Linked DNA regions of Homo sapiens: region 1 is linked to region 2. Evidence: promoter capture Hi-C in 16 types of primary human blood cells and fetal thymus (Javierre and others, 2016). All regions are on one chromosome and are shown on one strand. Each heading gives the region's core, a stretch centred on a gene start or on the middle of the fragment in contact. The rest is flanking DNA. Distances are from core to core; before and after follow the strand shown.

The links. The method cuts DNA at HindIII sites, captures the fragments that hold promoters and counts their contacts. A CHiCAGO score of 5 or more calls a contact.
Region 1: a contact is called between a fragment that was not itself captured here and the fragment with the promoter of CORO6 in region 2, in 1 of 17 cell types (M2 macrophages). The highest score is 5.7, in M2 macrophages.

Annotation. Positions count from the first base shown.
Region 1 is chr17:29,827,394-29,831,104 of GRCh38, reverse strand. The region is part of intron 2 of SSH2 (slingshot protein phosphatase 2); the gene reads left to right. LOC124900390 (a long non-coding RNA gene) reads left to right here. Exons shown (of 2, transcript XR_007065694.1): 2 at 3,391-3,711. Among named protein-coding and RNA genes, the nearest start is that of SSH2, 100 kb to the left of the region's middle. The HindIII fragment of the contact is 1,626 bases long and covers 718-2,343 here.
Region 2 is chr17:29,621,652-29,625,185 of GRCh38, reverse strand. CORO6 (coronin 6) reads left to right here and starts at 2,274. Exons shown (of 11, transcript NM_032854.4): 1 at 2,274-2,498. RefSeq lists an enhancer at 474-1,673 and a silencer at 2,461-2,610. The HindIII fragment of the contact is 1,950 bases long and covers 1,514-3,463 here.

The DNA.
Region 1 (3,711 bases), core at 281-2,780, 210 kb before region 2:
AACAATTCTGGCACCCAGAATTTATGGCTTATCCTGTTATGAGCTCCATATAACAAGTAAAAATTAAAATCCACTGGCACGTTAATCAAATGTAATGTTGCTGTGTAGTAATAATTTAAATTCTACTATGCAAAGTTATGCCCAGGACTTATGATCAGCCTCCATCTCTCATTGTCATGCATTAAAGCACTACTGCTTCATTTCCTTTCCCATTTGTGGTTTCCACTAGTCTGGTTCTACATCTCTATCTTGAACTAATTAAACTGGCTCAGACTGGAGCAGCTATACCAGGCATAATACCAAGAGGAGAGCAGAACTGGCCTGGGTACTCCTTCACTGACTGTATTTACTCTTTCTTGCCTGACCCCTATGTCTTAAGGGCATGTCCTTAGCTCCCATTTCTTATGTATATTATTACCTTTCACTCATTTATTCTTTTAACCAATATGTGCTGAGTACCTCCTATGTGCTAGACACTGCAGTGGTTGCTGAGGATATGGTGGTGCATGTGATAAACCATAAACATGATTCTTCCCTTTGAAACTTATACTCTAGTGGAGAAAGGTGGGATTAAACAGCTAATTATGCAGTGAAATTTTAAATTATGATCAATTCTGCAAATCGGAAAGTATACAATACTATGAGAATATAGCAATCAGGGACCTAACCTGGCTTGGGGGAAAAAGTGATGTTAAGGTTCATGGTCAAGGGAAAGCTTTCTTGGGGAAATGGTATTTTGAGTTGTACTCTAATGATGAGTTGAAGTCAACCAGGGAAAAGTTAGGTGGGGAAGACACGAATTAAAAACTTACAGATCAGGAAACTGGCACATTCAAGGAACTGACAGAAGGTCAGTAAGGCTGGAACAAAGAAAATAAGGGAGAAAATAACTCAAGCTGGTGCTGATAAAGTCAGCAAAAGGCCAGATGCTGCAGCCTTATAAACTAAGTCAAAAATCTTGATCTTGGCTAGGTGCGGTGGCTCACACCTCTAATCCCAGCACTTTGGGAGGCCGAGGCGGAAGGGTCACCAGGTCAGGAGATCAAGACCATCCTGGCTAACACAGTGAAACCCCATCTCTACTAAAAATACAAAAAATTAGCCAGGTGAGGTGGCGGGCACCTGTAGTCCCAGCTACTCGGGAGGCTGAGGCAGGAGAATGGCATGAACCTAGGAGGCGGAGCTTGCAGTGAACCGAGATTGCACCACTGCACTCCAGCCTGGGCGATAGAGCGAGACTCTGTCTCAAAAAAAAAAAAAAAAAAAATCTTGATCTTTATTTCTTGGACAACAAAAAGCCACTGAAGAGTTTTCAGCTGGGGAGTGACCAGGTTGAGATTTTTTAAAAATATTTGCCTGTCTTTGCTATGGAGAATGGGCTTCTATATGAGCACAACTATTTCCCCAGCAATCAGTACAATGTCTAGCACATAGGAGGTACTCTGTACATATTGGTTAAAAGAAGAATAAATGAGTGATAGGTAACGTATACACAATAAATGGAAGCTAAAGTCATACCCTGAAGAAAGAGGTCAGGCAAGGAAATGTGAATACAGCAGCGAAGGAAGAACCCAGGCTCCCTTCTTCCCTCTCTCCTCTCTCCATATATATATGTACAGACACACACACACACACACACAAGCCATCGACAGTTGGGGCTTCATATCCCTGTGATTTAGTTTGGTTAACTCACTTGTCAGGGAATGGAGCTCTTAATAAAAGGGAAGTTGGCAGAATAGTAGTATGGTGTTATGGTGTGGTGGTAAGGAATGTATATGACCCTAGTTAAGTTACTTTTCTTCTGTCTTAATTTCTTCATCCAAGGAATGGAAATGATAAATAGTATACCTACCTTGGAGGGAGGATTAGTGTGAAGATTAAATGAGATAATGGTTGCAGAGCACTTCGACTAAGGCCTGGCACATTGTTAGCCTTTAATAAACAGCCACTATTACAGTCTAACAATCTCATGAAAGGTTCAGATGTCCCTCTGAGATCCACCCACTTTTTGTGGCTCATGGAATAGCACTCCATTCATGGGTCACATGTGGACTTGTCTAGCCTACACTAATGGACTTTAGGACTCTAGTCTCAAATGGTACAGAAACATGTATATGGTTTAATTTTACAAATGTCATTTGGAGATGGAAATGGAAGCAGAAGGGTTGCTTACTTTAACGCCACTGGGGTTTTGCTTTGAAGCTGGCTTTTCACAAACACCAATGAAAAGGTTCTGTCACTTGCAGGAAATGACAGAATGTAGTTAGTTGCTTGGAAATGTCTGTGTGTCTTTGTTTCCCACAATACTAGGTAACGTCTGTAATTATACTGCTGAACAAAGCTTCAGGTTGATCAAGGTTAATTGTTGATAGTATTTGAAATGTTAATAATGTCTCCCCAAAAACTGCTTTACCAAAATAGATTGTTCTAGCTTCACAAAGGATTTAAATACCATTGATTTATTTCATTCAGCAATATGTAATTCTAGGCCTGGAAACTGGGATCTTCTGATTTAATATTTTCTAAGGAATTGGTACCCAGAAAATGTGTATTCTCTTCTGCTTTAAAGTTTGGCAAATCACTTGCTTCCAGGGATTCTCACTGTCTTTAGCCTTTTCTCTAAAACACACATTTCTGCTTTTGATCCATTTTTGTGGAACTAGGAAGAGGGGTTAAAGCATGCCATCTTTCTGTAGGAGTCCTAGGGAGTTTTGAGTGGTTGGGAATCTATTCTAAAAGTTCACAGTAGATTCAGACCCTGCTGAGAAAGTCTTTACTTTGTATTTAAATTTGTTGTGTAGCTTAAGAAGATAAAAGAGCAGGATTCTTAAGGGGGTTTTGCTGCCAAGTGCTACGAAAGGAAAAATTAAAAGTTTCTTGTGTAGTCAATGAGAGTTCATTGCAATCAAGATCACTTACTGAATTTGTTAAAGACTTCCTGTGATGGCAGGGTTCACAGATGATCAATAATTCTGTTTTTGTAAATACAGGTGAGTTTTGTATCTTATCCTTTATCTAGTCTAACATGATGGCTCTACCTCCATGGCTGCCTTTTCTGTTACTTAGTTCTCTAAGTGAAGAACCAAAAGCATCAGCTAAATTGTTCTAGTAATTAGGAGAGTGTTAGGAATTGGCTAGAAATACAGCTTAACCCAGCTATGGCAGGAAGGTAAGCAGAGGTTCTATCATATGTAATTATCCTCTTTAAAATGGTTAAGAAATGTATTAGATAGCATTACTACTAAAACCTAAGGCTTATATTGATTTAGAAAAACATTCACATTACAGATATTGTAGCTATGCTGGGGTTTTTTTTTTTTCTGTACTCATTCATTCTATTTATTTTTTCCCTAAATTATTTCTTCATTGTTTTGTGTTTGTCCTTTCCAGCTTCAAAAAGCTATACTGAGGGATATGCCAAGTCATAATGCATATTACCTGGAACTTCCTGGAAACCAAGCATTTTATTCCTGTGGAAATGTGTTTAGCCAAGTTTTAGAAGAATGACAAAGTGAGAAAACCAAATTTATTTTTATTGCTGTTGACTATTACTTAAAATAGGAAAAGGAGCTTAATTCTTGGGCTTCTTTATCACTAACTTAGTATGTTCCAAGCACTGTTCTAGTTGCTTGAGATACAAAAACAAAAATTGCTGTCCTTCTGAAGTTAGTAATCTGATGCCTGTTACCATTTCACCCTCTGCCCCTGCCA
Region 2 (3,534 bases), core at 1,025-3,524:
GCAAATATCTGAATCCCTGTACCCAGAAAGCACTGCTCTTCCTAGATGATGGAACTGAAGGGAGCACGCATTGAAGGATTCCTGCTTCCTAGTCCCAAGCGCTTCCCTCTAGAAGGGAGTCTCCTGTTCTCTTTAAAGAGAAGGAGGGTGGGGGTAGGGGAGATGCCACTTCAGAGGAGGCAGCACATAAAATCCCTACTCTGCTAAGGAGTGGTGCAGAGTTGGAAAGAATCTGACCCAATCCTGTTCAGAGAGCTGTAAAAATATGGCGATTGAGCCAGGACTGGAACCAGTTTTTTAATTCATTCCAGGCATCCTTTCCTCTGTGCCACACAGTATAAACTCTCAGTTACGTTTTAGCTCAGCACTTGTGAGATAAAGTGGCACTGTCCTTCAGGGAGAGACAGAAATGCATGCTGCTGAAAAGCAAGAACCAGATGCCAGACCACGTGGGTAAGAATCATAGCTACATCAACTACCAGTTGAGGTTGTGATGGGTAAGCCACCTAACCTCTTTGTGGCTCCATTTCCTCAACTGTTAAATAGGGATAACAACAGTACCCACCTTAGAGGATTGTTTTTTGGTTTTTTGTGCGTGTGTTTTATTTGAGACAGAGTCTCATTCTGTCACCCAGGCTGGAGGGCAGTGGCATGATCTCAGCTCACTGCAACCTCTGCCTCCTAGGTTCAAGCAATTCTCGTGTCTCAGCCTCCTGAGTAGCTGGGATTACAGGTGTGCATCACCACACCTGGCAAATTTTTGTATTTTTAGTAGAGATGGGGTTTTGCCATGTTGGCCAGGCTGGTCTCGAACTCCTGACCTCAGGTGATCCACCTGCCTCAGCCTCCCAAAGTGCTGGGATTACAGGCGTTAGCCACCCGCGACCAGCCTAGAGGATTGTTAAGAGTATGAAATTAATACGTATAAAGCCCTTAGTGCCAGTGCCTAGCACATAAGCATGGGTTATTGTTGTAAAGGAGCAACTGAGTCACTCAGGTATTTTCCTCCTAATCATGTGCCTGGAATCTTTAGGTAAAAGAGAGATGACTCACATACCCTCATACCCTGCCCCAGCACCCCTACGCCAGGAGTTATTTCTGGAGCACTCGTAACAGTTTTTTATTCTGTTCCCCTACAAGCCACTGACTCTTGATTTGATTCTGTCCCTACAAGCCACCTGGACTCTTCCTGAGAAACAAAGGAGCCTCGTGGGCCCTTCATGGTTTCTACCACCTTCCCTCCCTTTCCTCCCCAGTGCTGGTTCCTGCCCTTCAGAAGGCTGTGTTCCATTCACTCACTCCCAGGTGTGCCCTGGAGGGTGGGAAGTAATAACTGGCCCCAGATGCCCTTATGATCCAAGGGAAGAAATCCAGGCAATGTGCAGACACTGGGTAGACTGGAGCTACGGGACTGGCTGGTCTTCACTGGCTGTATTTTGATCAGGTTATCTTTAATCTCCTTGACCTCGGTCAACATTCAGTTCTGTGAATATTGGGGGAGACGGGGGAAGCTTACCTGGAACACAGTCGGGCGCCAATTCAAACAAGGCCCAGAAAACATTAGGAGTCTGGCCTCTGAGTTGGCTTCTCTGACCCCTAAAATGTGACTAGAGACCGGTGCTAGCCTCTTCCCCCTGCATCTGGGAGGGGAGGGAGTGTCAAGGTGGGTTCACTTTACACTCGGTCCTCCCCTTGTTCTTTCAGCTGCTTCCTGCCCTGCTCCATGGAATCTCATCTAATGGGGTGAAATGCCTAGCACACAGCCAGCATTTTAGGTTTCTCAAATGATCGCTATTGCCATTCATAACAATAACTAACATTCACAACCCTGTGTCGGGTGCCCTCTCACTTGCCCTACATCAGGATCAGCCTGGGTCCTCATTCTCTAGGGCCTCTTTCCCCCAGGGAGGCCTGGAAGTGCAGTCCCGCAGTCCCGGCCGATCGGGACAGCTAAATTGGGAGCGCGATTGAGGCTGGAATGCGGGTGGAGGCACCTGGTCTCCCTCGGCTGCCCGCTCTAGGGGCGCACGCCCCCTCGCCCGTTCCCTCTCCAAGCGTCCTGCTCTAGGTCTGCGAACCCGAGCCTCCCCAGCCTACCCGGGAGTCATGGAGGGAGGGAAGCAGCGTGCGCACCTAGCACACAGCTGCACATTTATTTTCGATGGTTCTCCGAGGCCGGCGGAAGCTGGGAGGGGAGTCGGGGTCGCTCGACTTTCCCGCCGCTGGAGGGGGCGGGGCAACTTGGGCTCTGGCCCCGCCCCTATGCTAGCCCCGCCCTCTTAGGTTGATGGCAGCGGCAGCTGGGGCTGCAGCGGCGCCGGGCTCTAGAGAGCCGCAGGATCGGCCAGAGTGCGGAGCTGGACACCCGGGTCCCAGATACTACAGACACCCGGAGAGGTGGCTCCTTCGCCCTGAAGCCTTCCTCGGCCCCCTACGCACTCGGGCCCCTTCCGCAGAGGATTCGCAGCGTGAGCGCCCCGCAGCCCGCTCAGGACCAGGTACCCAGCCCCCCACACCCGGCCGTCACCGCAGCCAGCGGAGCGGGCGGGGTCCCTGAGGGGCAGAGGTCTGCGCCTCCTCCCCCCGCGCCGCCAAATTCGGTTTCGGGCGGGGAGGACGTGGTGTCTATATTTGGCCGGACAGCAGCCAGCGCTCCCGGAGGGCGCAGACACCTCGTCTCGCAAGAACGCAGTGTCAGGGCAGCAGGCTGAAGAAGGGTGCAGGGAGGCCGGGCCTCAGGCTCGGGGCCGCAGACGCGCCTTGAAGGGCACACGGATGCTGGGGCTGGGGTGGGGCAGGAGCCACTGGCTGGGGCTTTGGGAGTGCTCAGTGTGTCCTCTAGGGAGACCCTAGCTGGAGAAAAGGCACCTCACCCTCCCCACCCCTGCAAATCTGGCTTGGCCGTGGCGGGGGCAGGGGTGGAGGATGGGGTTGAAGACCCCACCCCTAGAAGAGTTCACTAGGAAGAAGGCCCAACCAGGGCAGAGGACCCAGAGGAGAAACCGGACAAGCCTATGGTAGGCAAAAGCCAGAAGACCATGATCAGGGCTTCCTGGAGAAGCCAGTGCAGAAAGGAGTGGGAGAAGAGGGATCCACCTCACTCTGTGCTGCCACCCGTCCCCCCACAAGGCATGGGATGAAAACAGTAGCAGAAAGGACTCAGATTGGTGGACAGGAGGAACTTCCCCCTTGGCAAAATTTTAGGAAAAGGCAAAACCCCATCTGCCTGAACTATTCCAGAGATGCGAGTTCGGTATCCTGTGGTGGCTGCAGTCTTGGCCCCATACCTGGCTTTAAGCCAAGATCCAATGGTCAAGTCTTCTGCTTCTGGACAGGGTGCCTCTGGGAGCTACAACCACGTCCGTGAAGAGATGCTCATCAAGGCTGGCGGTGGTGGGGGCGGGGGGTGCAGGCAGTGTGGCATTGAGGCTCCTCCCAAAAACATTCCAACGTCCAGAAAGCTTTCAGTCTGTTAGGCTCCACAATCCCCTCAGCCTGGGTCTCTGTGGAGAATTCAGGCCCCAAATCCTAGCC